5 separate regions of the Homo sapiens genome follow, and regions 1, 2, 4 and 5 are each linked to region 3. Evidence: promoter capture Hi-C in 16 types of primary human blood cells and fetal thymus (Javierre and others, 2016). All regions are on one chromosome and are shown on one strand. Each heading gives the region's core, a stretch centred on a gene start or on the middle of the fragment in contact. The rest is flanking DNA. Distances are from core to core; before and after follow the strand shown. Region 1 has its middle 40 kb from the start of LINC01187. Region 2 holds the start of LINC01187 (long intergenic non-protein coding RNA 1187). Region 3 holds the start of KCNMB1 (potassium calcium-activated channel subfamily M regulatory beta subunit 1). Region 4 overlaps KCNIP1 (potassium voltage-gated channel interacting protein 1). Region 5 has its middle 4.6 kb from the start of C5orf58.

Region 1 (6,085 bases), core at 2,179-4,678, 230 kb before region 3:
TCAGCCTCCTGAGTAGCTGGGATTAACAGGCATGCACCACCGCACCTGGCTAATTTTTGTATTTTTAGTAGAGATGGTGTTTCACCATGTTGGCCAGAATGGTCATGATCTCTTGACCTTGGGTTCTACCCACCTCAGCCTCCCAAAGTGCTGAGATTACAGGTGTGAGCCGCTGCACCCGGGCAACTGGTTTCCTTTTACTGCCACTTTCACTAACCGTGGTATTTCTCCATGGGCAGCATTCTTGGCATTTGGGTGTGTAGGACTGTCCCTCACATAGTGACCTCTTACTCATGAATTGCCAGTGTCACATTCAGATTCTTATGGCAACCAGAAGCTCCCCTGCTCCCAGCATTTCTGGACTCAGCCTGGGCTGGGGAGGTTAGCTCAGACCAAATATCTCCTTTCTGCCAGTTGCTCTGCTAGGCCCAGGTCATGCTGAGCAGAGCAAGATGTAGCTGAAAACCAAATAAGTCACGTGTTCCAGCTTGCTGGGGTTTTGTGAAGAAAGCAGCCACCCCTCCAGTCATATAGTTTGCAGGTTGGGATTTGCATTTTGATTTCCAAAGACCCTTGAACAACTTAGCACTGCCCACCGCCCTTCAGAGCTTATTTCCACTTCCTGCCTGCCTATAGGTTCCAAGCTCATTATAACTAGCCTAAATTGCTTTTCGAATGGGAAAACACAGTAAACTTATTTTATACAAAATTTATTTATGAGATATTAACATGCCCAGTACTTGGGCAAGCACTGTGTGAGAGGTAATAGATATGGAAGAAAAATATTCAAATCTGCTTACAAAACAAGGACAATCCATTTTCATTTCAAACTGCTTAATATATTCAAGGGTTAGAGAATAAGGACAAGAAAGCCTATATATGTTTTAGAGGATGATTCTTGTGTCATGGAATTGTTCACGGCAGGCTTCCCGAGATGGTTGATAATGTGATTCAGAGAAGCTTCCACCTACCCCAGGACTGTGAGGTGTGCACATCACCTGTAATAGAAATGATAGTGATGCCATAAATGACACCATCACACTTATCATTAACTTAGTTTCTCTTGTATGTGCGGGCTTCTACACATCCTGATGGCAACGATAATGGCGATGACTTGATGTAATGAGCTTAAGTGAGACATCGTGTGCCTAACATACAGTAAGCATGCAGCAATGGAGAGTTTCAGTGTTTATCTCACTTCTTTCTCATCATAGCCCTTGCAGTAGGTGTTATCTTTCCCGTTTTGTCTGCTAGAGACCAGAGGTCAGTGAGATTCAGACACTGCCATAGATCACAACAGCTACTAGATGGAGGAGCTGGGATTTGAACCTTCCTCCCCTAAAAGCCAGGATGAAGCAGGTTAGAGCTTTGCTGGAGTTGCTTGGCTAAATTAGGGGCTACACCAACCCAACTTTTCTTCTTCATGTTCAAGTTTCTTTGATGGGTTTATTTCTATGGACTTTCCTCAATACTTCCAGAGACTGACTTGCTTTTGTTTGCCATTTCTCAGCCATTTGCTTTGGTTTGAGTGGAAAATCCTCAGCATTGGATCCTTTGCTGTTCAGCTTTAATTCAACCCTAAATTAAAGGCCTTTTAACTTTCACTTGAGTTTCTCAAGCTCTTCCTATTTCTATCTAGATCAAAGCCTAGTTTGTAGTCTGATGGAGCCTGAATATTGAAATCTATCCCCTTGGGCATACCCAGTTACTAAATTTGTTTAAATGTTTTTGAACATTAGTTTTAGAGAAGGAAAAGCCAGAGTTTGCTTTGGACCAAAGACTCCTCACTTACTGGGACTGTCATAATCTTCAAGAGCTTTCATTTATCTCTACAGCATAATTCATAAATCCTTCCTACTTTTCAGAAGAAGGCACATTCAGGCGTTATGGCGGCCCCCACACTGCCTTTGACCCATATGGTCTTTTAAATATATTTAATGAATTGTCATGATTCAAAAATCAAGGGGTTTCATATAACAAAAGAGATTTCCTGCTTCTGCTTGAAAAGGATCTAGACATATCTAGAAGATCTGGAAAGACTAGGCCTGCATTTTGAGCCCCTGAATAACAGTTGCTCCCTATAGATAGCCATGTAGTCCCTACCATGAGCCCTTGGTGTTATATCTAAAAAGTTATCACCAAACCCAATGTCATCTAGATTTTCTTCTATGTTATTTCCTAAGAGTTTTATTGTTTTGCATTTTACATTTAGGTTTATGATCAAGGTTGAGTTAATTTTTGTGAAGAGTATAAGGTTTGCATCTAGATTATTATTATTATTATTTTACATGTGAATATCCACTTTTCTAGCACCATTTGTTGACAAGGCTATCTTTTCTCCCTTGTAGTACCTGTGATCCTTTTGTCAAAGACCAGTTGACTATATTTGTGTGAGTTTATTTCTGTGATCCCCATTTCAGTTCTGTTGATCTATTTGTCTGTGCTTTCACCAATACCACAATGTTATGATCCTTTTCCAGTAAGTCTTGAAGTTGGATAGCGTTAGTTCTCTGAATTTGCTCTTCTCCTTTAATATTGTGTTGGCTATTCTGGGCCTTTTGCTCCTCCATATCAACTTTAAAGTCAGTTTGCTGATACCTGCAAAATAACTTGCTGATCTTTTTTTTAAGACAGAATTTTGCTCTTGTCACCCAGGCTGTAGTGCAATGGCACAATCCCGGCTCACTGCAACCTCTGCCTCCTGGGTTCAAGCGATTCTCCTGCCTCAGCCTCCCGAGTAGCTGAGATTACAGATGCCCACCAGCACACCCAGGTATTTTTGTATTTTTTTTAGTAGAGATGGGGTTTCACCATATTGGCGAGGCTGGTCTCGAACTCTTGACTTCAGATGATCCACCTGCTTCGGCCTCCAAAAGTGCTGGGATTACAGGCATGAGCCACCGTGCCTGGCCAACTTGCTGAAATTTTGTTTGGGATTGCATTGAATCCATAGATCAAATTGGAAATAACTGGTATTTCGACAATATTGGGATGCTCTTTCAATGAACATAGAATATCTCTCTATGTACTTAATGTGTTTTTCCCTGAAGAACCATGAATTCAAATTAAAACAGATTCAAACAGAGCTGATCAGGTGCATATGAATGGGAGGTGGCGAGAAGAGGTGTCCAAGCCCAGCTGATTAAAACTCTGTCCTTGACCAAACTTCGGACAGGCTCCTCTGTGCCCTCTTTTAAACCAGGCCTCATCCTTAGGTCTTGTCTTTGGCCTTCCTGGTCCAACTGTAGCAAAAATCCTGCTAAGTCAGTTTTCCTAGAATCTCCACATGCTTGCTATTTGGACACCTTCACTATCTGTTCAAATTCCTCATTCCCCATCTTTGATGTTTAAGTCTTTGGCCTGCCTTCAGCAGAAATTCTGTTAAGTTGGTTTAGCAAGAATCCCCTATCCCTGATGTCTCCACTTAGTAATTTTCCATTCAATGACCCCTCACTCTGCTCATTGGCTACAAATCCCTCTGTCTTTGCTGTATTTAAGTCTTCCTCACCACGTTAATGTGTCAGAATAATTTTCTTCTCTAACACAGCTCACCAGGACTCTGACCCATCTCTAAGGAATCCTAGGCTACCAGCAACACTGTGCGAAATCTCTGGGTGCTTCCTGCTCTGAGAATCCAAGGGTTTTGGTAGGGAGCCAGGGATGAGATGACTTCATGGCACTTAGAACTTCTGTACACACTTAGAGGTACATTGCTATCTTTTTCTCTCAGGAATTCCACCTGTGGAGTTGGAAGCATTATTATTATTATTTATTTATTTATTTATTTATTTATTTATTTATTTATTTATTTTGAGACAGAGTCTCTCTCTGTCGCCAGGCCAGAGTGCAGTAGTGTGATCTTGGCTCATGTAACCTCTGCCTCCTGGGTTCAAGTGACTCTCCTGCCTTAGCTTCCGGAGTAGCTGGGACTACAGGCACATGCCACCATGCCCAGCTAATTTTTGTGTTTTCAGTAGAGACGGGGTTTCACCATGTTGAAAGCACTATTTTTGTTGTTGCTGTTGCTGTTGTTGTTGTTGTTGTTGAGACACAGTCTTGCTCTGTCGTCCAGACTGGAGAGCCGTGGTGTGATCTCAGCTCATTGCAACCTCTGCCACCTGGGTTGAAGCGATTCTCCTGCCTCAGCCTCCGAAGTAGCTGGGACTACAGGCATGTGTCACCACGCCTGGCTAGTTTTTGTATTTTTAGTAAAGATGGGGTTTCGCCATGTTGGCCAGGCTGGTCTTGAACTCCTGACCTCAGGTGATCTGCCCCCCCACCCCTTGGCCTTTTAAAGTGCTGGGATTACAGGTGTGAGCCACCGTGCCCTGCCTTACAGTTTTACTATTGTAATTGCGATCAGCATTATTCTCATTTTTTGAAGTGAGGACACTGAGACTCAAAAGAACATAACTTGCCCAAGGTCATACAAAGAGGAAGTGGCAGAACCAACACCAGAACTCAGGACTATTACTTAAATTCACATACCATAACCTTTGAGACCCAACCTTGCATCTGGGTAAATATAGCATCGATCTTTTTAAACTTGCTGTTGCTATTTAAAAACATTGCTTTCTATTAAACACTGATATTTTATGGATTAGAATTACAAGGTCCCCCAAATTGTAGAAATTAAAATACAAGCGATTTCAAAAAATAGGTTGGGGATGTTTCTGGCATTTTAAAAAGACAAATATTCAAGCTGATGGATATCCCAAGTACACTGATTTGTCCTTTACAAATTATATGAATGTATTAGATTATCACATGTACTCCAACAAAAAAAGAAAATAGGTTGGATACAGATTACTCCTGGCTCCCCCAAGAAATATTCATTCATTTCCCTTTGCTCCTTAAAGTTCTTCAGTGGAAAATTGTGATAAGCAGTGGATTAAATCAAGTCCATTTTGCAGATGAAAAAAACTGAGGCTCAGAGGTACTGTTTTCATTAAGCATTGTTACATCCATTTAGCTGATACATAGCCTTTAAAAAATCAGAAGCACCATATTATTTATTGGTTTATATTGAATTTAAATCCTCTTTCTAAGTCAATAAATTTTTTTGACATTTCACATGCAAGCACCGATAAATTCTGAGAGTGAAGACTTCCTGCTCTCATAGAGCTTAGATTCCAGAGGCTTAATTGAGTTCCAGATTAGAAAAGGTCTTTGGGCAAAATAAAGGTTTGCTCAACACTCCCTATTACTTCATATTCTGTACTGTACAGCAGTTGTTTTCAAAACGTTGTTCTAGGACCTCTGGGGGCACCAAGACCTTTGCAGAGGATCTGCAGGATCAATGTTATTTTGATAATAATAAGATTTTTTTGCTGTACTGACATTTGCACTAATAGTGCAAAAGCAATGAAAGGTAAAACTGCCAAGGCTTAGCAGGAATCAAGGTGGTGGCACCAAACTGCACTAGTGATCACTGTATTCTTCACCATTCACGCAAATGGGAAAAAAGCTAGTTTCGCTCTAGAATGCCCTTAACAAAGCAGTCAGAGTTCATGTGTTTTTAATATTCTGTGTAATGAAACAGGAAGTGTGCAAAAAGCACTCGTGCTGCATATGAAGTTTCGTTGCATACTTGGCTTGGCTGTAGGCAAAGTACATTTGCCATGACTTGAGTTGCAAGCTGGACTTGAGTTGCAAGCTGGACTTGAGTTGCAAGCTGAACTTGCTACTTCTTTCAGCGGAACATCATTTTTACTTTGAAAGAACAACTGGCAGATGACGATGGTTTTTCAGTCTTGAGTATTCCAGACATATTCTTGAAAATGAAACAAAATAAATTTGCCAACTCAAAAAACCTGACAGAATTTGTTGCATTGACAAAATTAGAGCTTTTGTGCAATATATATATACAGAATTTTGGAAAAATTTTTCTGCCACTGTAAGCTTGTACTTAAAGTCTCCTGATGACATTAGGGGTATTCTTAACTATTTAAAAAAATATATTATACAAGGCAGTGTTTCAAAAAAACTCAGTGCAGCACCACTGATATTTTCTTCTATACTGCAACCAAAGCCACATATTACAATAGATTGAATGCAGACGCCAATGAGAATCCAGCTACCCTCC
Region 2 (5,938 bases), core at 2,374-4,873, 190 kb before region 3:
ACCAAGGCATATTTTGTTCTAAATCTAATTGTAGAGAAGTCCTGGGTGGCCATGATGGCTCATGCCTGTAATCCCAGCACTTTGGGAGGCAGAGACGGGCGGATCACCTGAGGTCCGGAGTTCAAGACCAGCCTGGCCAACATGGTGGAACCCTGTCTCTACTAAAAATAGAGAAAATTAGCTGAGCGTGGTGGTGTGCGCCTGCAATCCCAGCTACTCAGGAGGCTGAGGCAGAAGAATTGCTTGAACCCTGGAGGAGGTGGTTGCAGTGAGCCGAGATTGCACCACTGCACTCCAGCCTGGATAATAAGAGCAAGACTCCAACTCAAAAAAAAAAAAAAAAGATCCTTCCTGCTGAGCTGAGCTGACTTGGCTGTGAGCAGAGGCAGAGTCTGGGAGGCACCCCAGCCTGAGCAACTTTTCTGGAACTGCATAGTGTTTGATGAAATGGATTGAAAACCCAATTTCCAGCTCTGTGCCAATTTGGGGTCAAATGATATATTTCACTTTTGTCAACGAGCTTTGCTTTTCTGAGCCTCAGTTTCCTCATTTGCAAAATGGGAGTGATACTTCCTGACGTTCTGGGCTGTCGTAAAAACTAAATAAGATAGTGTATGTCCAGGCCAACTCAGCATCAGGCACACAGTTAGCACTCACATATGTGACGTGAGAGGTGTGAGGCACCCTCTGAACTAAAACACTAAATCAAAAAACAGATACGGAGCTGGGCATGGTGGCGTGCACCTGCAATCCCAGCTACTCAGGAGATGGAGGCAGGAGGATCCTTTGAGCCCAGGAGCTTGAGTTCAGCCTGGGCAACATAGAGAGACTCCATCTCTAAAATAAAATAACATAACGTAACGTAACGTAAAGTAAAATAAAATAAAATAAAATAAAACAAAATAAAATAATTAAAGAAAAACAGATATGGGGAGGAGCTCTCTCTGGCTTTCCCTCCCGGCTCCAATTCCACAGCTCCGGAATCCGCACCTGGTAGACCCTTTCGCTCTGAACTCAAATGCCTGGCCTTATTCTGGCAGGGTTAGAAGCACAGGCTTGCGTTCTGGGGGATGAGTACAGGTAAGCCACTTCCCCGGGGATTTCACTGTAGCTTCTGAGCACATACAGATAGATAGTATCCTTATAATAATATTATTTATGCGGCTCTTATTATTTGCTAGTTACTTTCTTTGCGCCCTTAAGCAAGGAACTAAACCTCTCTGAGCCTCAGATTCCTTATCTAGAAATCAGAGAAAATAATAATGCTTATTCAGAGCGATTGTGAAAATAAAATTAGCTCATACATATAAAACAGAACAGTGCTTGATGCACAGCCAATTCAAAATGTAAATATAATTAACACTATAAATACATTGAAACAATATAAAATTAGTTGTTATTTGGCAGGCACTGCGCTATACACATATGCATGATTCTCAGAACAACCTTCAAGGTATCTACTATTATTATAATCTCATACAACAGTTGAATAAACTGAAAAGTGAAGTAAATATTGCCCTAGACCACTTGGCCGATAATTGGCACATCTAAAATTCAAAATTGATTGGCTCATTCCAAAACCAAGCTCCTAATTGTTATGTGCTCATCAGTGTGGAAGTAAGAGATTGTCAAATATTACTTCACACCCCCCCCCTTCATTAGTTAAAAAATAGACAACCACCACCTCAATGATGCCAACAACTACAAAACTCAACTCCACAGGACCCCTGTCATGCTACGAGCAGATGGCATCGATCCTGACTTTGCTGCCATGAAATCCCCTCAAGAGAGCCCCACATCAGGGGTCCTGAGTTTGCAGACAGTCATTAGAGACATCCTTGTTTGGGAAACAGCTGCCCTCCACCCTGATTTCACAGCTGGGGAAACAGGGCCTGGAGAGGAGACTCATCTGGTCCCCTCTGTTTTATGCCGCTCCTTTCTCTTGCCAGTAACACCACACCATGGAGCTTTGCCTCTCGGGGCCCATTCATCTCAAATCCTTTTTCTGATTAGCTCACTGTGCTGCCTGCCACCCAGGTTCTCATCAGAGCACTCACGGGGCCTTGGCTATTTAAAAATTCTGTTAACTCGAGAAGTCTCTGCCACTGCCCCTGCCAGCACCAGGCTCACCCATGTTTGGCTTTTGCATTCTGTGCTTCCTAATCCCATTTCTGGGGCTTAATTATGATTACACAGCTTTATTATGTAGAATTGATTTTAAGTAATGGCCCTAATTAAGAGTGAATTTTAATTAAGCTTAATTCAGAGCCTGCCTCCGATTGCCAAAGATTTGCAGCCTGAGAAGAGGAAAGGCTGCCCGTGCACAAAACTCACACGTGACTTTGATCTTCATGCTGCTGGACTGTTGCAGCCAGATGGGTTTGTACTATTTTCTGGCCTCAGGGTGCATTTCTTCACCAGGGTGCAGGAGGTATCAGCTCTAGTCCATCTTCCCCTTCCATGCAGAAGCAAACTCGGAGCGCTGGCAATAAACAGAAGTGGGGATCCTGCACCTTTGGGGTGAATATCAACTACACCACCCACCCTGTTGTAGAAAATGAAGCTCATTTGCTTCCTTCCAACTGCTCATGAAACCTGTTCCACAGGTGAGAAAACTAAAGCTCAAGAAGGCCACGGCACACACAGGCAGCGAGGGCAGCAGGAAGATTGGAAATCAGCTCTGCTCCCAATGCCTGTGCCCACTCTGTTCCAACACAGCCTTCCAGTAAGTGGCAATCATCTCTGACTTTGGCAGAAACCAACCTGCTTGAATTTCCTGCCTGCCCACCTAAGCCACTGCTTCCCCAACTTTAGAAGCTCATACGCTGTGAAGGTGGGTCTTTTATGTAAGAGTGAAAAACATCTCAAACCAACTTGTTTTCAAACGAAAATTTTTTCCTACCTTTAAAACTGCTATAAAGCAAAAGTTGTCATAAAAATGTTAAAAAGGAAATAAAACAATGTGATTAAATCCAAATCAGAAACTATTACCTTCTAAAGCCCTAGGAGTAAGGCTTGATCTGCCTGACTTTAAAAAACAGAGATGAGAAGATAGTTCGACCACAACAGCACCAAACTGAGACTTTGTCCCTAACATAATCGGAAAGACCGAAAAAGAGTTGGGAGGACATTGTGTTGCTCCGTGATACAGTGTTATTTAAAGTCGTGTCCAGGTGTCAGCTAAAATCGACTCTCCTTTGTCCAACATTTTCACGGACACTGATCCAAACCAATTTAGCACAGGTTTCCAGGGACCTCTGGGTAATAATGCCCCTCAGCTGCCCTACAGATGACAAGATTCTGGACAGAAACCCAGCTCCCCTAACCCACAGCCCTGGCCCAAGGACAAGATATGGGCATTCCTTTGGTGTTTCAAATAAAAACACAGTGAAATCAATATGTTCTCCAAGACCGGCTGGTGGAGGCTGTTCACCTGCGGAGAAGGGGCCTGGTCATCCGGTTCCTGAATGCCTTTGCCACACTAGAATGTTTTATGGTTCTAAAGTTCCCACCTTAGAAAATCACCCACTAAGAAGCCAAGCTCTGAAAACGTTTTGATTTTTCTAGAGGGAAATGGAAAGTGAAAAATGGAATTCAATTACCTTGAAAAGGGGCAATTTCACTCACAACTGTTACACTTAAAAGCTCCATATGAAACAGGCATTCAAATAAGTCTCAGCCTAAGTTAAAAGAAAAAGGGGAAAAAGAAAATCATGTATTAATCCTCTTCCCTCTACTCCTTCTGACCTAGTGAGTCTTCCTTAGACTCAAAAAAGATAGATGGACTTGAAACACGATTAAATAAGCATGTTAGGACTTTAATAATCCAAGCCGCAGGAGTTTCTATTAAAAGTTGGGTATTTAGAAGAACCATTTGGTTAACCAGTCTAGTGACACAGAAACCACCATGTGAGGGAGGCTCTTCTGAGCAGAGCTGAAGCAGGGACTCCCTGCTTTTCTCTCAGAGATTTGGGGGTAAAGTTACCATCAGACCCTTCAGTTCAGCTGAAAACTCTGAGATGCCCAATACACTCCCATTTTCTACTTCAAGGAAACTTCACTAAAACAGAGGAAAAGATAATAGCCTTGATTGAAATAGAAAGGCGTTACAGAAACTGACACCAAACAACACAACAGACATCATCATCCCATCATAACCATGACGCGCTCATTCTTTCTTTACATCTTCATTCCTGCTAGGTCAAGGCAAGCCGTAGAAGTGGTTTTGTGACCACCATGATGGTTTCCCAAGGCAAATTTAGACAGCATATTTTCTCCTACCACAAAAAACTCCAGCCAGACTCTCCAGTGGTTGAATTCCTATTCCTCAAGTTACCAGCTGTGGAACTCTGTGCCTCAGTTTCCCCATCTGTAAAATGGAGATAACAGTAGCATCTACCTCATAAGATTGCTGTAAATATTAAATGAGATAGTGCTTAGCACAATGCATGGCACATAGCAAGCACTTGGTGGCCGATCAATGGCAAATACGAACACTGGCTCGAGCTTACTGCCATGGTTTATCTTAGCAGCTCCTGACTTGCCTGTTGAGAAAAAATGCTCCTAAACTCAGAAGTATTCAGAAAACCTACAGCAAGGTGGTGAGAGACTAGACTCTTCAAACCTCTGAGGTGCTTTTCTGTCCTCATTCCAGTTTTCTGCCCATCACATTGGCCAAAGAGCTCTAGCCAGAGTTGAAGCCAGTGCTGATCACTTTCCTGACAACCTGGCTGGCAGAGATGGGACCGTATGTAGCACAGGGAAGAGGTGTGTTTTCAGACAGCTTCCTCTCGGAAATCCATTTTGACTGTAGATCCAAAGAAAATCCTTCCAGGCTTCTTGTGCACACGCCAAAACCTGCACACATGTATGCATTTCTTCCTCTCTGTGCATCTCTCCTGCACATCTGGGCAAAAACCAATCTCTGCAGGTAGCATCTTGTGCATATAGCTGTCCGGCCCTATGATAAAATGCATTGTTTCTCTCTGAGTGAAGCTTAATGCACCTCAGCCTGGGGATTTATACTAAGCAATAAAATCCACAGGATAGAGAAATGCAAATAGATTGTAGAATATAATATTATCATTGTCAACATAAAAGACTTTTATTTACTGCCCCCCAAAAGAAAATACACCATAGTGTCGTTTGTTTCAGGGAATGCAAAAAAGGTTTCAACAACTAACAGGGCATGTTTCTGAGCAAAATATACCCCGTATATAATGTTGGAACACATATTGTCAGTGGCCACTCGTGTGTCTGTGTTCTTGCAAACAAACCTGTGGAATTGAGTCATGGAAGGTCACTTCCAGCCACCTCTCTGAGCCACACGGCACCTACCTGGCTCTGTTCACAAACAAACCAGACAATATAGACCTATTTGAAGGGAGAGACCCTCTGAGGCAGGCCACACTCCATCAGCACATCTTAGAATGAGGCATTTGAGTAGTTGCTGACTTGGCTTACTGGGGAATGGAGTTGTGGTGGAGGTTGATTAAACAGATGGTCCATGTTGCTTTGGGCAAAGGGAAAAGTTAAAGAGAAGATGTAGCAGAGCACATGGGAGGTGACAACTCCATCTTTTCTCTAGAAGATATCCCTACAACTCCCCCTTAATGCTCAAGGTCATTCCACCAATGCTTTTGTTGCACAGGGTATTGACAACTTACAAGACCAATTATTTTCACTGATTTGTTTGAATGATAAGTCTGTTGTTTTGTGTAGGGGTTTGGCTATGATATCAGACCCAGTCACAGCAATTGTTTCATTTCTGTCTACAAGGGCAAGATCTAAGTTTATAAGGCTTTAAACAGCCATAATTACCTGAATGACATTTTATGTGAAAAATATATTCTAACTGGTTCTCCCAATAGCCCTAGGAAATATACCCTAGGTGTTATTACGGCCAATTTACAGGTGAGAAAACCGAGACTTCAGAGAG
Region 3 (5,281 bases), core at 238-2,737:
AGACATAAATCATTTGAAGCCAATGGGAAATCCCATCTTGGAAGCCTAGGGCTGAGTGCCCACAACAAAGCCATTTCTCTCCTGGGGGAACTGGATCGCACCTGTGGGGGCTTCCTGTGGCTCCTTCCTGGCTAATCAGCCCCCCCCAGCGCCCAGGGCCATGGCCTCCTCTGCTATTTGGCTTCTAGTGCCCTCTCAGGCCCCTGGGCACTCCTGAGGCTGGTGAAGGCAGGAACCTGGTTTTACCAGTTTTAGGAGCTCAGAAGGAAAGGAAAGGAGAGGCTTCCCTGTCACAGAGAAGTCTGGAAACTTGGCTTATTCAGGTCTGACCCGTCTCTAATGGTCTGATGAGATTGTTGCCTGCACTGAGTGAGTTTATAGAGTCATGATAAATCCTCCTAAGACCATGCGTGGGGTTCAGTGTAGATATGACTTCAGCAAGAAGTTAGTATTCAGCATCCAAAGGGAGAACCTTTGGCGGGAGGAAGGATGGGAACTGTCAATATCCCCCAAGGGACAGAAAGAAAAGGAAGAAGTGGGTTTCAGCTATCATAGGAGGGATTTCAGTTAGACTGTAAGAAGAACTTCCCAGTTTTGAGCATTTCTAAATATCTCTGAAGTTCCAGGATATATCTTCCCATTTAGAAAGGTCACTTGAGATCTGGGATAGATTCAGAGAAGATGGAGAAGGACAAAGGAAGGCAGGACTTTGGAGTGTCCTGGGTGACCTGATAGCTGGGTCGACATCCTTTTCCTTAGAAGGACAAGGAATAGAGTACATTGTTGAACAGTTTGGTGGGGTGTGGACAGGGCGATTCTGAGGTCCTCAGACATGGAATCAAATCCTGGCTCTGCCACTTACACTTAGCAACCACATGACTGTGAAACGAGAACCATGGTACCTGCCTCAGAGAGTTCAGCTAAAGATCAAATGCCATATTGAGTATCAGACATGTATCATAGCACCTAGCCCCAAATCAGCCCCCAGTAAATATTAGCTATTACTACTAACGAAGGAAACCCTGAAAGTTTGGAGCAGAAGTCTGGACCCCTCTTGATGAATCTATTTTTGTCCCACCTCTCTACCGGTGACAAGTGCCAGCATTGGTGTTAATCTCCAGGCTGCAGCCTTCTGGCCACTCTGAGAACTGGGACCTAGAGGGCCAGGGCGCTTACTACCAGAGTAACCTGGCCACTGTGCCACCCTCCCCACTGGCCACCAGACCACGGGCCCTCCATCCAGAAGGACAGCCCCGAGAGGAAGGGAGTCCTCCTGCCTGCCTCCCTCCCTGCCCCGTGGCAGGCTGCTTTCCCCTGTCTCCCTCCAGCCCGGTCTTCAGAGAAATCACTTCCCAAGTGCTTTCAGGCCCGGTACTCACAGTCTTCCCGGCGTCCTGTGGGTCTTGAGCAGCAGACAGTTTCTTTCTGCCTGGACCCCCGCCCCCACCCCAAAAGAGGCCACAGAGCTTCAGCAGGAAGTTTGGCCTCCCCGCCCGTCTCCAGGGAAGCAGCTTTTGGTCCCCATCTGGGGCAAGCCTCCATGCCCAAACATGGTCAAGTCTGAGCACACAGCCTGGAGACACAGACTCGGAGAGCAGGTACCCAGCCCTGAGGAAGGCAGCTGTTACCCAAGCCCTGCACCTCCATCTTCCCAGAGTCTCGTGGGAAACAGATTTCAAACAACAACAGACAGCAAGACTGAGAAACTACGAAAGATCAGCCTGGTATATTTGGAAATATTTCTTCTTCTCTCTGTCTCTGTGGGCTGGCAAAGATGCCAGAAATAGGAAATGATTCTCCTTTTGTTGGCATGAGGAAGGGTGGAGTTGGGCTGGAGGGGTTGGGCTTGTCACTAGTCCCTGGCATATCCACGCTGGAGCAGCTACAGCTCCCTGCCTTTGGCACTTACGTGCTGTGTGACCCTGAGCAAGTTATGGCACCTCTCTGGGCCTCAGTTTCCTTTTTTGTTTTTGGTTTTACTCCCAAACTTATCGTTAAATGACCTCAGTTTTCTCACTTGTGTTACTGGCATTTTTAAAACCTACTTTGCTTTAGGGTAGTGATGGGAGTTAGAGACGGTGGGGATTTATGGCAAGGGGAGAGAACTGACTTTTTAAGGACCAACTGAGCTGAAGCTGGGAGTAGTGAGAGCTCCACAACTGCTTCCAACCAGGTCCAGGGACAGTCTGCTCACCAGGGGCCCTCCCAGAGACCGCGAAAGTACAGAGATTTCTTCCTAGCAATAAGACAAGTGAATGTCAGCATTTGCAGGCAAAAAACATGCTTTTAGATCTCTGCTTCTTCATCTGTAAAGTGGAAGTAAGGATTAAAAATCAGCAACAAAGGGCAGGCACAGTGGCCCACGCCCATAATCCCAGCACTTTGGGATGCCAAGGTAGATGGATTGCTCAAGCCCAGGAGTTTGAGACCATCCTGGGCAACATGGCGAAACCCCATCTCTACTAAAAATACAAAAATTAGTCGGGCATAGTGGTGCATGCCTGTGGTCCCAGCTACTTGGGAGGCTGAGGCAGGAGAATCGCTTGAACCTGGGAGGCGGAGGTTGCAGTGAGTCAAGATTGTGCCACTGCACTCTAGCCTGAACAGAGCGAGACCCCGTCTCAAAAAAAAAAAACAAATATATATATATATATATATATTTTCAACAAAACAACAAAAACAATCCCAGATATTGGGGCTTTCCTAAGTATCAGGCGTGGTGGTAGAAGGCAGCTTATCTCCACCCTTCACTTGACCCAAGAATCAAAGAACCTGAAACTGAGACTTGGAGGCTTGAAGTCACTGGTGCAACCCTAGGGGCCAGAACTAGATTCGAAGCTGGCCCTTCCAGATGGCACAGCTTGGTCTGTCTCTGATGACCCTGGGGCTGCTCTGAGACATTAAAAATCACCTCGATCATACAGTAAGCTGCCACCTGAGGCTCTGGAGGTCACCCTGAGTTTCCCCAGCCCCCAGGGAGGTGGGTGCAGCCTGGCCTTCCCTGCTGAGCGAGCTCACCACCTTCCTCCCTCCTGCCTCCAGCAGGCGCGAAATGAAGGCAGCCACTCAGGCCTCCCTGACACACTCTCAGGCGGTGAGTGCCCTTCTCCACCCCTTTCCTAATTGAATCTTATTAACAGGAGACTACAGTGTCTGTTTAATGGGCACCATAGCACCAGAGGGTCTAAGACCAGCTTCAGACCTTGCAGGCAGATTGACAGAGGGATGTAGGATCTGGAATTCAATCTCAGAAGAGCAATTTTCCAAGGATGATCCTCTGTCCACTCAGAAGCAGGAAAAGTCCTCCTGGGGCTAATCCAGAAATGCCAGGCCCCCCTCCTGCTTCCCTGGGGGAGAGATACACAGTGCAACAGGCTGCCATTTATGAGTATAACCGAAGGGCTCCTTGCTCGTGATACTCTGAATAAGTTATTAAGGGCTACATATTATTTGGAAATCATAAACAAACTTTAGCATTCTTCCCAAGGGAAGGTGGGAACAAACAGGGAAGGGGGGCCGTGGGGTCTTCTGCTCCCCCTAAATGAGCCACAACCAAAAGGCATTGACAAGCCCTGTCCTCGAGGGTTTGTGGGTGAAAACCCAGGTCCTTTGCTGGCTGCGGGGTTGTGTGTGACAGATGGCTACAGGTGGAGGGCAAGAAAATAACAATGCTGCAACAATAAATATTGACGGTTTGCATTAGTACGGGGTGTCAGAGATCACAAAATATCTTCTCTGACTCTTCCAACAGCTTCTTAAGGTACTAGCACAATAGGCTCACAATAGACCACTGAGGTGGAGATTTTTCTACCCATTTGATAGAGGGAGTAACTGAGCCTCAGAGAGGTGAAATAAATTGCCCAAGCAAGTTACTTTGCCTCTCTAAGCTTCAGTTTGTCTGTCTCTAAAATAGAGATAATTATACCTAGCCCCTCAGTGTTTTTGAGGAATGAGAGATCACCTAAGCTACCTGACACATAGTATGGAGATTGTCCTTTCCAAAGATGGTCACACCAAATACTTCCCATTCCATGTGCCCTTTTCACAGTGTGGCATCAACACTCCACCATCAAGAGGGGCATTGATGTCTCTTCCCCTTCACCCTGGGTGGAGCTTCGTAAGGGCCTCAATAGTAGAATATGGTAGAAGGACACAGCACGATGTTCAAGGCTAAGTCATAGACGGGGGCTCGAGTTCCCCCCACACGCTCTCGGGACATGTACCTGGGAACCAGCCACCATGTTGTAGGAAGCCGAGGCCCCGTGCTCCAGCTGACAGCCTCAGCTCAGATCTCAGCCAACAGCTAGCAAATCTCACCGGGCATGGGAGAGAACAAGCCTGCAGACAGTTCCAGCCCCCAGCCTGCCAGCCTCCCAGCTGAGGCCTCAGAGAATGTGGAGCAGAGACAGCCCACCTGCTCTGTGCTCTCTCTGAATTCCAGAGCCACAAAATCCACGAGAAGAAAAAAACTAATGTTTCATGCCCCTGCGTTTTGGGGTAATTTGTTATGCAGTCATAGTAACTGGAACACACTTGCAAGTGATTTCAAAGGGGGACTGTTACAGTTGCTGGTGATAGTGGTAGGATTAAACCAGTGAGAATTAAAACACCTGAGATTGCTATATGGAGTGTTACAGGAGAGTTTAGAAATGCTTTATCTAGGTAGGGCATGGTGGCTCATGCCTGTAATCCTAGCACTTTTCGAGACCAAGGCAGGCGGTTCATTTGAGGCCAGTAGTTCGAGACCAGCCTGGCCAACATGGCGAAACCCCGTTTCTACTAAAAATACAAAAATTAGCTGGGCACGATGGCAGGTGCCTATAATCCCAGCTATTCTGGGAAGCCGAGGCATGAAAATCACTTGAATCCAGGAGGCGGAGGTCGCAGTGAGCTGAGATTGAGCCACTGTACTCCAGCCTGGGCGACAGAGTGAGACTCCATCTAAACCAAAACAAACAAACAAAAAAAGTGCTTTATCTACTCTTAGGTCACACACTATGGCACAAATGGAATAGAAGGGCAGTGATATGGGAGGGTATTTTTGTTTATGAAGCACCTACTATGTACCAGGGAATGACCACATAGATATGCAATACATACACATACACATACACATGGACATTCCTCTCCACAATCCCCCACAAAAGGCCTTGTTCTTTCTGTAAAAGCACAAGGCAAAGTGATTTTCCCAAGGTCACGCCCCTAGCGTGTGATGTGATGGAGCCTGGAGTGCACCTGTGCCCGCTGACTCCACAGCCCGTCCCTGCCCCTCTGTCACCCC
Region 4 (5,935 bases), core at 1,083-3,582, 230 kb after region 3:
GATGTTGATGTGTCTTCCAACACATGCACCAACCTTTCCCTGTCCTGTAGCAGTTGAGATGGAATCATCCCACTCCCAGCTCCAGGAATAGGCTCTGATGGGCTTGAACCCAGCAGCTTAATTCCATTGGTTCTCTAGGCCTTCATCATTAGTACAGGAAAGGCACTTGACCTAAATTAGTTCGATAAGATTTAAGCTCAGAAATCTGGTTTGTTGGATGGAGAAAGAGATGCTTTCTTTCTCTCTGGAAGGAGTTTATTGCAAAAGTAAGGGCTGGGGCTGCTACAGCCATTGTGCTACCATGAGGGAACTAGCCATGATAACAAAACTTGCCTGGGGAGGGGCTACGCATCACAGAAAATGATGCCAAAGTCCTGCTCAAACTGTGCCTGATGCCTGCCTGATCTATGGACTTCTTAGTTCCATGTAATGGATTCTCTCTATTTTTAAAGCCGTATCAGGTTGAATTTTTGGAGAAATAAAACAAAAAGCATCTTGACTAATTTAAAAAATCTTCTTTGGGTATTCAACCCTCCTAAACTCACCCCCAAATCCACTGGGAGCATGTCAAGATTTTTGTGAGCCGATTTAGGAGATGCAAATTCATTTGCCTTAATTGGATCTCCAGGAAATGACTTCTGCCCCCTCTTAAATCATTTAAAGCTCAAAGAGGCATGAGGGCCCTCCCCAAGGATGCAGGTATCCTCTTGACTGACAGCCTGTATGCTCTGCTTCCAGGATCCTTCCATCTCCTCCCTTTACTGAGGGAGTCTGCTATGTGTTAGAGGTGTCCATCACTGGTCACACTGGGAAGCTGTGGCAGGGAAGCTGGAGAAAAAGCAAGATAGGCCCCAGAAAGAACACCAACTCCAGACTCAGGGAGACTCAGGCCAGAATCCTAGCTCAACTTCTTCCAAGCTCCCAAAGTCACACTCTTTTCTCTGAGCCTCGATTTTCCCATCTGCAAAATGGGGATACTAAGGGTCACCTAGCTGGGCTGCCCTGGAGATTCCAAGACATTAGGCATAGAAACAGTCTGGCCTAGACCCTGTAGGCCAGTAGGCATTTGATCAATGGCAGCTGTGGTTGAGATTTTTATCATCATTATGGCTGCCCTTCCTGCTTTCCAGGGCTAGTGTAGATCTAAGATTATAGGGGCTGCAACGTTCCTCAGTGGAGCAGATGCAGCAAGGTAGTAAGAGAGGGCATTCTCACTTGTCCCCACAGAGTGTGGTGTGGGGGAGATCTGTGAGCACCCCAGCAGCCATGAGGGTCAGCACTTGAATCTCTGCAGGTCAGTCATACTCCTCTTTATTATTTTTATTTTTATTTATGTATTGATTTATTGCTCTGTCACCCAGGCTGGAGTGCACTGGCACCATCATAGCTCACTGCAGCCTTAAACTCCTGGGCTCAAGTGACTCCCACTTCAGCCTCCCAAGTAGCTAGAGCCACAGGCACATGCCACCACGCCTAGCTAATTTTTCAATTTTTTGTAGAGACAGGGTCTCACTGTGTTGCCCAGGCTGGTTTCAAATTCCTAGGCTTGAGTGATCCTCCCGCCTTGGACTCCCAAAGTGCTGGGATTACAACTGTGAGCCACTGCACCTGGCCTTATTCCCTTCTTTTTATCAGTTTTCAAAGCCATCAGTATGCAGAGCACTAGGCCCAGAAATGAGAGGAGAAGAGAGATGGAACGACGAAGACCAAAACCTCTGTCCTCAAGCTGCTCATAAGCCAGTATAGAGACGTGTGGAGTCTGCTGTCCTGAGTTCCAGTCCCAGTTCCCCTTGCAAGCAGCCGTGTGACTTGCAGCAAGTCATTGAATCCCTTTGAGCCTCACTTTCCTTGTCTAGAAAACAACAAAACTGGAAATAATACTGCTTCCCTTCCAGTTTGTCAAGGATGAAGGTGCTTTGCACGGTCCCTGGAGCAAAATGTGTTCTCAATCAAGATTCCGTCTGTGGTGGGTGGAGCCGCGTCCTTCCCAAATTCATATTCACTCAGAACCTTCAAATGTGACCTTTTTCAGAAATAGCATCTTTGCAAGTTTAATTCAGTTATGGGTCTCAAGATGAAATCATCTTGGATTTGGGGTCTATCCGAAATCCAGTGACTGATGTCCTTATAAAAAGAAGGGATACAGGCCGGGGCCAGTAGCTCACGCCTGTAATCCCAGCACTTTGGGAGGCTGAGGCAGGCAGATCACTTGAGGTTAGGAGTTCAAGACCAGCCTGGCCAACATGGTGAAACCCCGTCTCTACTAAAAATACAAAAATTAGCTGGGTGTGGTGGTGAGCACCCATAATCCCAGCTACTCGGGAGGCTGAGGCAAGAGAATTGCTTGAACCCAGGAGGCAGAGGTTGCAGTGAGCCGAGATCGCGCCACTGCACTCCAGCCTAGGTGACAAGCGTGAGACTCTGTCTCAAAAAAAAAAAAAAAAAGAGTGGATACAGAGAGGCAGTGAAGAAGGCTGTGTGCAAAGACAGGCAGAGGTTAGTGGGATGCAGCGCGAGGCTAAGGAGTGTCTGGGGCCACCAGAAGCCAGGGAAGCCTAGGAAGGGTTTTCCTAGAGCCTTTGGAGGGAGCACAGCCCTGCTGACACCCTGACTTCAGACTCCCAGCCTCCAGAGCTGGGAAGGGATAAGTAGCTGTTGCTTTAAACCAGTGGTCCCCAACCCTTTTGGCACCAGAAACCGGTTTTGGTTCAGTGGAAGACAATTTTTCCACGGACAGGGTGTGTGGGGTGGGAGATGGTTTCAGGATGAAACTGTTCCGCCTCTGATCATCAGGCATTAGCATTAGTTAGATTCTCATAAGGAGTGAGCAACCTAGATCCTTCGCATGCGCAGTTCGCAATAGGGTTCATGCTCCTATGAGAACCTAATGCGGCGGCTGATCTGACAGGAGCGGAGCTCAGGCGGTAATGCTTGCTCGCCAGCTCACCTGCTGTGCAGCCGGGGTCCTAACAGGCCACAGACCCATCCGTGGCCCAGGGGATTGGCGACCCCTGTCTTTTTTTTTTTCTTTTTTTTGAGATGGAGTTTCGCTCTTGTTGCCCAGGCTGGAGTGCAATGGCACGATCTCGACTCTTCAACCTCCGCCTCCTGGGTTCAAGCCATTCTCCTCCCTCAGCCTCCCAAGTAGCTGGGATTACAGGCACCCGCCACCATACCTGGCTAATTTTTGTATTTTTAGTAGAGATGGGGTTTCTCCATGTTGGTCAGGCTGGTCTTGAACTCCCGACCTCAAGTGATCCGCCCACCTCAGCCTCCCAAAGTGCTGGGATTACAGGCGTGAGCCACCACGACCTGCCCGGGGACCCCTGTCTTAAACCACCCCAGCCTGTGATACTTTGTTATGGTGACCCTAAGAGGCAAATACACCCTCCTTTCCCCAACCTCTCCCCTCAGACGAAACCGATGCGAAAAGTGCTTCATGAAGTTTCAGGTAAAGAAGTCTGGGACGAAAAGGGATAGTGAGGATGGCGGGAGGGGCTGAACTCCAAATGGGCTTATCAAGGCTCTGCAAAATGGCGTGACGGCGCTGCCCCCTTCTGGTGGCCTGAAGACTAACGCACATGATGTCAAGTGCGGGGCCCAAGTACTCAGGAAAAGGTTCTCATTTGGACACTGGGAGGTCTTACATTGGGGGCCCTGAGCCTCCAGCCCTTCCAAATCTATTCTCAGCAGGAGCTCAGCCACACCTGTGTCCCAGAACTGAGGCCAGGCCCAGCCTTCACTCCACGCCCAGCCAGCCCCAAGGAACCGACTCCCTGAGGCTCTATGCTCCCTGCCTCCAGTGGCCCCGTGTCTGGGAAATAGTGGCCCTGGCCTGATGCCCTGACCTGGGCAATCCATCCCCTGGTCCTCTCAGCTCCCGGGCCCAGGTTTTCTGGGCTACTTTAACCAGGGCAAACTCATTCCTCGAGTACAAAATAAAAGATTCGAACAGCATAATCAAATAGGTCATACCCATAAATCAACACATTTGAGCACCTATTTTGTTGTTCTTTCACTAATCCAAACCATATTTATTGAGCATCTACTATGTGCCATTCTCCAGTAGCCATTCTAGGTGCAGGGGATACAGCAGAGACCTTGAAAAAAGGAACAGTCTCTGATCTTGCTGAGCTTAGAGTCAAGTGGAGGTGAGGAGGAAGGAAATGAATTAACAACTAAGTGAAGCAGAAGGTAACCAATTGATTGACTGACGAAGGGGTACAAACAACAAACACCTTCCTTTCTCCAAACTCTATCTTTAACTGTATTCTCTCGTTTTCCTTCCTCTCCATTTTACAATCATTTTACAACATCTCTGGCTATTCTCCTATATTTCTGATCACTTCGGTTCTCATCACAATAATAATTTCAGTTTTCAAGCATTGGAAAGTCCCATCCAATTAAAATGTCAATCTCACACGCAGTTTAAACGTTTCGCCTGCCCGTGAGCTCAGACCTGTCTTGGTGCCTCAGTTCTTGTGTGGAGGGGAGGAGAGGAGAGGGGAGGGGAGGAGAGGAAAGGAGACCGGGGAGGTGGGGGGGGAGAGGGGAGGGGAGGAGAGGGGAGGGGAGTGGGGGAGAAGGGGAGAAAAGCGCAGCTGGCTTCCTCACTCTCCTTTCCTTCCTCACCATCCTTACCCTGGCCCAGGGCAGGAGGAGGATTGGCAGAGTAGAGGCAGGGTCTTCTGTCTTAGCTGGGCCTGTTGGTGACTTTCTGTTGGCCAACATGGGCTGACTGGAATGTTCTCCAGCATGGCACATGGTCATCCAGATGCAGGCTCTTCCCTGGGGCACTATAGCAGAGAGGGCTCTCTTCCAGTCTATTGCAGATGGATGCCCTCGTGAGCTGAGTTTTGATGAACATCCCATGTCCCCAGCCACCCCATTCAGAGCCTCTTTCTACTCTGGTCCTCTGGTCCCAGCAGCAGCCCTCTGGGTACTGAGGGGAGGGCATCTCACCCAAGCCCCTTAAACCTGCTCACCTTCTTCAGAGCCCACGTGGCCGCAGGAAAGTCACAAACCCTTGTGCTCCCACAGGGCACACGTGTGCACACGTGTGCAGCTACCTTCTCTCTAGTTGGTACCTGAGGCTGCCTCCTGGATTTTCCAGTCTCTGTGTTCCCAGACAACCCCAAGCCCCAAGAATACAAGAGCTCTGTCACCAAGCATCGGGCCTGTGGCTGCACTACACGTCTGCAGCTCAGGACCCCTGGCTGCGGCGTAAGCTACCAGCATCCCCTTCTCATGGGCACCCTCATCTCCGGCTCCCCATCGCTGGGCTGTGACCTGCGGGGGCGCCCCTCTATGGAAGGGAAGGAGAAAAATTCACAGTGCTATCTACTCCTCTGAATGCACTCCCACCAATTTCCTTGGAAATTTCTAGCTTTCACTGACATATCTGGGATGGGGCGGTGGTCACAAAATCAATCCCACTTTCCCTCGGCTAGTCTTACAAGCACCCAACAGCTCTATTCAGAATACAGGGCTGCCCAGCTACTTCCCATTCATTATCCCCAGGTTGCAAGCTTTAGTCAAAACCCAGAGGCAGCAGGGTGTCTGGTTCCACCTGCTGTTAGGATGATTTCAGGAGTGCAAAGTGTTAGAAACGCGGTAAAACATGATGCTTAGAGATTAAGTGGGATGGGGACTGGGCAGATGATGCTGCTTTGGACCCAGCGAGTGAGGTGAGACTGCGACAAGACAGAGCCACTGAGCAGTGACCTGGGGGATGGGCATTGCAGGCAAGGCAGAACCCCAAGTGGGAACAACCTCACTGGGCTTAGCAAAACTAAAGAGGCCCAAAGTATACTGAGCGATGAGGTGAGTGGCGTGGGATAAGGTTGGAGAGGAGGCTGGAACCAGACCCTGCAGGGCCTTGCAGGTGATGGGAAGGAGTTTGGAAGGTGCTGGAAGGTTTGAAGCAGAGGAGGGA
Region 5 (5,458 bases), core at 1,436-3,935, 160 kb before region 3:
CCAGCCGTGTCACCGTCCCCACTGGGACATCCTTCCTTCCTTGATAGCTTCTAATTGAATCCTCACTTAATATGCATTTGTGTGATGTGTGGATTCCAGTCTGTCTCCTTCACCAGACCATGAGCTCCATGGCTCACCCCTACATGCCTCAAACTTAGCATGGTGTCTGATACACAACAGATGCTCAAGAAAGGTTTGTTGTATGAATATTAAATGCATGGCACTTGGGAAGTTTATAAAATTGTGACTTCCTTTTCCCTTGTCTAGGGCTTCTTATATATGAAAGTTAAAAAAAAGTGTGTTTTTGTTTGGTGGTTGTTTTAATGAAACATTATTTGTCAAAGTCTCCAACAGTGCAGATCCCTAAGATTTCCCTTTCTGCAAAAGATGGCCAGCAGAGGGCCCCATAGGAGCAATTACTGAAGTCAGGTCAGCGAAAACAGCAGCTGCTGAAAGATAGCCGATCCTGTGCCCAAATCTCTGGCAGTCCTTGAGCAGCTTGGAGAGAACATCACCATCATGGAACCCTGGCCCACTATGTCCAAAAACTGTTTGATCTGGCCTCAAGAAACAGGAGTTCATAAGGCAGGAGATCAGAGCCCTGCGTAGACGGTTTTAATGCAAATCCCTGCTTGTTTCTTGAGTTGCCAGTTTCACGCTTAAGAATTTGTAGTCAAGAGCTCGCACAGTTGGGTAGAATCACGCATGAGTGTTAGGGGAGATTTGCTTTCTTTGGGGGCCACTTTTCGTTTTCCAGTCAGTAGTTTTATTTCCATTTTAATTTTCCGAGCATCTGGCCCCCAGCAACAGCCTGTGGTTTGGAATTCATGGCTCTGTTGTGTGTTTACGCACTACACTTGCTTGTAATTGACAAATTTAAATTCTGGTCATATTTCATTTATTACCCAGACCCAGGGAAAAATCCTAGGCGAAAACCTAATTACAGCAAAAGTGCCACAAGGTAATTGCTGTGAAAGAACTCCTGCAGCAGCAGGGCTGAATATTTCATCCACCCATAAAATGATTATGCTGACAAGATTCTGAAAAATAATAAAATCTGTTTAATAAAAAAGAAGCAAAATATCAGTGTTTTTACACACAAAGTATTAAAACATTCTTCATTTTGGACAGATCCTAAGTCATTTGATTTTTATTCAAATGATGATCCACAGCTGAGATAGTTCTTTTATCAGAAACCGGGGTTGGGTAATCCCTCCCACATGAGGCTGTGTGGAAGCTTCCAGGCCTGCAATGGCCTTCTGGAACAGTACTGAATCGGCTTGCCACTGCTCTATTGGATCTCTGGTCTGTGCCACAGAATCAGAAAGCAGATGGAATGAAAGGAGAATGCCTTTAGTTTAGACTGCTGTCACTCCCCCACATTCTCCCTGGCCACCATGGGGGCTGTCTGTCCTTCTCTCAGAGGACCTAGAAGGCATGCAGGTGTGACTTCTGCCCTCAGAGCTTTGTTGAGTCCATCAGGGCATCTGGGGGTAATTTGCATCTGGGTGTCTCCAACTGTCCAGGATACCACTATAGCAGGGACCACTGCATTCATTCAGCTACTGAACAAGGTTGTATGGAGCATTTACCATGTGCCAGGAATTGTGTTAGACACAGCGTTGATAACAGTGAACTAGACCCTTGGTTCCTGCCCTTGACAGGAACTATATTACAGTGAAAGAGACAGGTCAAAACCAAAACAAAAAGTAAACAGAAACATAAATAAAGCATAACAAATTATATCAAGTACTGCATGGAAACACAGAAGGGGCTGGGAGAGAGGATGGGGCGATATCAGAGTAAGGCCTCTCTGAACCCTAAAGCAAAACAAGGAGCCAACATGGCAAGCTCAGAAGGAAACAGGTTCCAAACAACCGCTGGCCTGTGCCAGGCCTGAGAGGAGAGTGAGGGGAAGGGAGACTGGAGCTGTGGGGCCTTACGGACCAGGGTCAGGAGTGTAGTGTTTATTCCATTAAGGGAAACCCCTGGGAGGCTTTAAAGCAGGGGAAAGACACAATTCCATTTACATTTTAAAAAGCTCATCCCACTAGAGGCTGGAGCATATACAGTGGCTCTTAGGGACAAAGATGGTAGGTGGTGGGAGCAGACAGGAAGGACATTATTGTAACACAGGGCAGGACCAGGGCAGTGGGAGTAGAGGCAGGAGTACAGGGGGTTTTTGAGTATGGAAATTTACATATAAAAACATAAATATTTTACAAATCATCTAACATCTCAGATGTTAGCATTAGACTTTCCATTATGGTTGCAAGTGAAACTAGAGATCAAAAAATAAAATACAGCCAGGTGTGGTGGCTCACGCCTGTAATCCTAGCACTTTGGGAGGCTGAGGCAGGAGAATCACCTGAGGTCAGGAGTTTGAGACCAGCCTGGCCAACATGGTGAAACCCTGTCTCTACTAAAAATACAAAACTTAGGTGGGCGTGGTGGAGCATGCCTGTAATGCCAGCTACTCAGGAGGCTGAGGCAGAATTGCTTGAACACAGGAGGCTGAGGTTGCAGTGAGCCGAGATTGCACCACTGCACGCCAGCCTGGGCAACAGAGCAAGACTCTGTCTCAAATAAATAAATAAATAAATATAAAAATAAAACAAATTACTAGGAAATAGAAGAAACAAAGACCTAAATTAGAAAGAACTTGAAGCTGGGATGCCCATCTCCTTCTTCTCACTTTAGAGAATATAGACATTGAGTCTTCGTATCCTCGTAAGCTGCCAGCCAGTGTTTCTCAAACATGATCCAAAGACTTCCTAGGTTAAAATAGAAGGAGTCGGGAGGGCAGGGGATTACAAATGCAGATTCAGGGAGCCTCACCTTAGATTCACTAAAGCTGAGTCTTTGAGGTGGGCCCCAGAATCTGCATTTTCACAAGCTCCCTAAGTTGTGCACTGCAGAGTCTGAGACGCTGTGCTTTAAAGTGATTGATGTATCATGCTGAGAAATCACCTGACAGGGGTTAAAATTATGACTAGGCTAAATAAATAATCACGAAGAAATAAATCTCATTATCATTAATGTTAATAATCCTTGTAAACATTTTCGTAGATACGCTTCCAAATTTGCTCTTATGCACATATGCATTCTTTTTTTTCATAACAAAACGTGAGTACACCCTTATATTCTATAGGAATTGACTTCATGAACACAATACGTCTTTTGATAAAGACGCTCATTCTTCATTGCCTGGATGCTGATGAGGGCACAGTGTGGGGGTGTGGGGCAATGCCCAGAGGGAAATGACATCCACCAGGATCTATGTCTTTAATAATCAGAGGAGGTATTGTGGGGGAATGGATGCCTGACATGAGAGAATTAGAAACATATTTTATTTTGGAACAGACAGGTATTCTCTGATTGGTGGATCTCTGGAAATTAACACAAATTGTGTCATGAATATGCCTTGCCGGATGAAGGCATCTTCTAAAAAGCCAAGCACAAAGAGTTTTCAGACAAAAAGGCATAGCAAGCAACTGTCAAAACACAGTGCCATGTTGAATATTGTCAGCTTCCTTCCATCTGCTGTCTCAAAAACCTAGCTTCTCTCTTGCATTCCAGGGATGCTGACGGAGGAGGAGAGCCAGATTCTGGCACAGTAAGTTTATCTGTTTTATTATTTTGGACATCACGGTGGAAAACTTCAACATTCTCTTGGCTTTCGTATCTACTGAATCTACAAGGTTTCACACTGTTTGCTTTTCTTTCTTCAGGGTTGAAGTGTTTTGGGTAGAGAGTTGCCAGATTATCAAATAAAAATACAGGATTTCCCATTAAATTTGAATCTCAGATCAACAACGAATACATTTTGAGTATAAGTGGGGGCCATATAACATTCAGGACATACTTATACTAAAAAAAAAATCTGTTGTTTCTCTGGAACTCAAATTTAACTGGGTGTCCTATATTACATCTCATGACCCTGTTCAGAGGGAAATATTGATACAGAACTGTAATTTCTTAATTAGAAGTGAAAATGCTTCAGTTAACGTAGGAGCAATATGGATGTTCATTAATAACATCCTTCTATATTTCAGAAGTGTTTCTCCTAAAGAAAAAAAAATGACTCTGGATAATGTAACATCAGCTACTCGAAGAAGACAGTGGGCAGACACTGAAGCTTTTAGTTCACACCAGGGTAGCAGAAGTCAGCTTGCTTCTTGCTTCCTTTAAGTGATTGGCTTTGGTGAACGCAATAGTTGTTCGGGTACACAGGAATCTGCTTAATCTTTCAAATGCTGGTCATGCTCCCCAGGTAATGATCCAACACATGCTTATGTTGCTGCCTCCCAAATTAGTGCACACAGGGTTGTACAAAGTCAGGTTCAGGAGGGAGTTGATGCTCCAGCAGGGAGCTGGTCCCTAGACACAGAGGCCAGCACTCTTAATTGATAATGAACAGACAGGAGGAAAATGGGAACCCTGAGATCTAGTGGAAGAAGTAAGATAATTTACTCAATTTGTTTTCCTGGAAATGAAGACTTTATGTCAAGAATCTGTAATAAAATTAGCCGAGGTGCACACACTCAACTCCATAAAACGCTTGATCACCTTGCTGGTCTGCAGCACCTTTTTCTATTTATGGGAGCATTTACCAGTTTTTAAATCCCTTTTGTTTGATTAACATTAGAATCAACAACTGCAATCTGTGTTGGGTTCCAGTAAAGTGTTGTATTTTCACACTTATTAAAGAAGATAGATTTTGTTTTAGGGCCTTAGCTGTAAGTCTCTAACCCTGAGTAGCAAACCATGCTTTTAAACTTTCATTTTATTAGGGAAAAAAAAACACAAAGAGACAAAATCTATAGTTATTTAAGTAGAGAAAACAGTGCAATAAGTAGTCATCACTGCTCCAAGACAGTTTTATAGAGAGAAATGCATTACTAAACCTATCTTTTTCTGAGTTTTTAATCTCTTTTATTCCTCTTAGAACACTTATTTAAAAGGAACACAAAGTTGATTTTTCTTTGTGAATAACTAATGGCTTAATGATGATCTATTCCAAATAGCAGTAGTTTTGATATATTCATAAGAAGCAGTCAGCATTTTGGATGGATCCAAGGCCTTTAGATTCTGCCAAAAATCCTGTGGATTGCAATTCACAGGTAGTAGAGCTATGATAGCTCCTGCAAACAATTGAGGAACCCAAAAATGAGTTCAGTGTGCTTGGGACAATAGGACACTCCAGCCTACCAACCCCAGTGCCCATCATCACTTGATTTTCAGGATTCTCAGTCTTAATGCTATCTCCACCCACCTACTTCTCCTAAGCACCTTATTTACTCCTGTAGTTATCCACAGGGAGTTTCTAAAAGTGAAGAAGTTTTTACTTCTTCATCATCAAAATAAGTGAGGAGGAGAAAGGATACATCCTGTAAGCTTTCTGTCAAGATAGTCTTATTCTGAAGTTAAGACCCTCCTCCTTTTATTTTCTTCCTTC

What was found. The method cuts DNA at HindIII sites, captures the fragments that hold promoters and counts their contacts. A CHiCAGO score of 5 or more calls a contact.
Region 1: a contact is called between a fragment that was not itself captured here and the fragment with the promoter of KCNMB1 in region 3, in 1 of 17 cell types (non-activated CD4 T cells). The highest score is 6.1, in non-activated CD4 T cells.
Region 2: a contact is called between a fragment that was not itself captured here and the fragment with the promoter of KCNMB1 in region 3, in 7 of 17 cell types (activated CD4 T cells, non-activated CD4 T cells, total CD4 T cells and 4 more). The highest score is 9.2, in activated CD4 T cells.
Region 4: a fragment that was not itself captured here is called in contact with the fragment with the promoter of KCNMB1 in region 3 in 1 of 17 cell types (M2 macrophages); the score reaches 6.3 in M2 macrophages.
Region 5: a fragment that was not itself captured here is called in contact with the fragment with the promoter of KCNMB1 in region 3 in 14 of 17 cell types (activated CD4 T cells, naive CD8 T cells, M1 macrophages and 11 more); the score reaches 10.3 in activated CD4 T cells.

The regions. Positions count from the first base shown.
Region 1 is chr5:170,155,711-170,161,795 of GRCh38, forward strand. No RefSeq gene overlaps it. Among named protein-coding and RNA genes, the nearest start is that of LINC01187, 40 kb to the right of the region's middle. The HindIII fragment of the contact is 4,941 bases long and covers 959-5,899 here.
Region 2 is chr5:170,194,150-170,200,087 of GRCh38, forward strand. It overlaps LINC01187 (long intergenic non-protein coding RNA 1187), which reads right to left and starts at 4,992. Exons shown (of 5, transcript NR_108022.1): 1 at 4,593-4,992; 2 at 3,603-3,680; 3 at 2,335-2,482. The HindIII fragment of the contact is 2,739 bases long and covers 2,255-4,993 here.
Region 3 is chr5:170,387,880-170,393,160 of GRCh38, forward strand. It overlaps KCNMB1 (potassium calcium-activated channel subfamily M regulatory beta subunit 1), which reads right to left and starts at 1,488. Exons shown (of 4, transcript NM_004137.4): 1 at 1,380-1,488. KCNIP1-OT1 (KCNIP1 overlapping transcript 1) reads left to right here and starts at 1,614. Exons shown (of 3, transcript NR_109899.1): 1 at 1,614-1,724. It also overlaps a transcript of KCNIP1 not described here. RefSeq lists enhancers at 1-103, 104-604, 2,529-3,029, 3,030-3,530, 3,783-4,283 and 1 more. The HindIII fragment of the contact is 12,470 bases long and covers 1-3,885 here.
Region 4 is chr5:170,620,195-170,626,129 of GRCh38, forward strand. All of the region lies in intron 1 of KCNIP1 (potassium voltage-gated channel interacting protein 1), which reads left to right. Among named protein-coding and RNA genes, the nearest start is that of KCNIP1-AS1, 58 kb to the right of the region's middle. RefSeq lists enhancers at 3,371-3,665, 5,149-5,648. The HindIII fragment of the contact is 6,388 bases long and covers 1-5,526 here.
Region 5 is chr5:170,225,633-170,231,090 of GRCh38, forward strand. No RefSeq gene overlaps it. Among named protein-coding and RNA genes, the nearest start is that of C5orf58, 4.6 kb to the right of the region's middle. The HindIII fragment of the contact is 2,901 bases long and covers 1,236-4,136 here.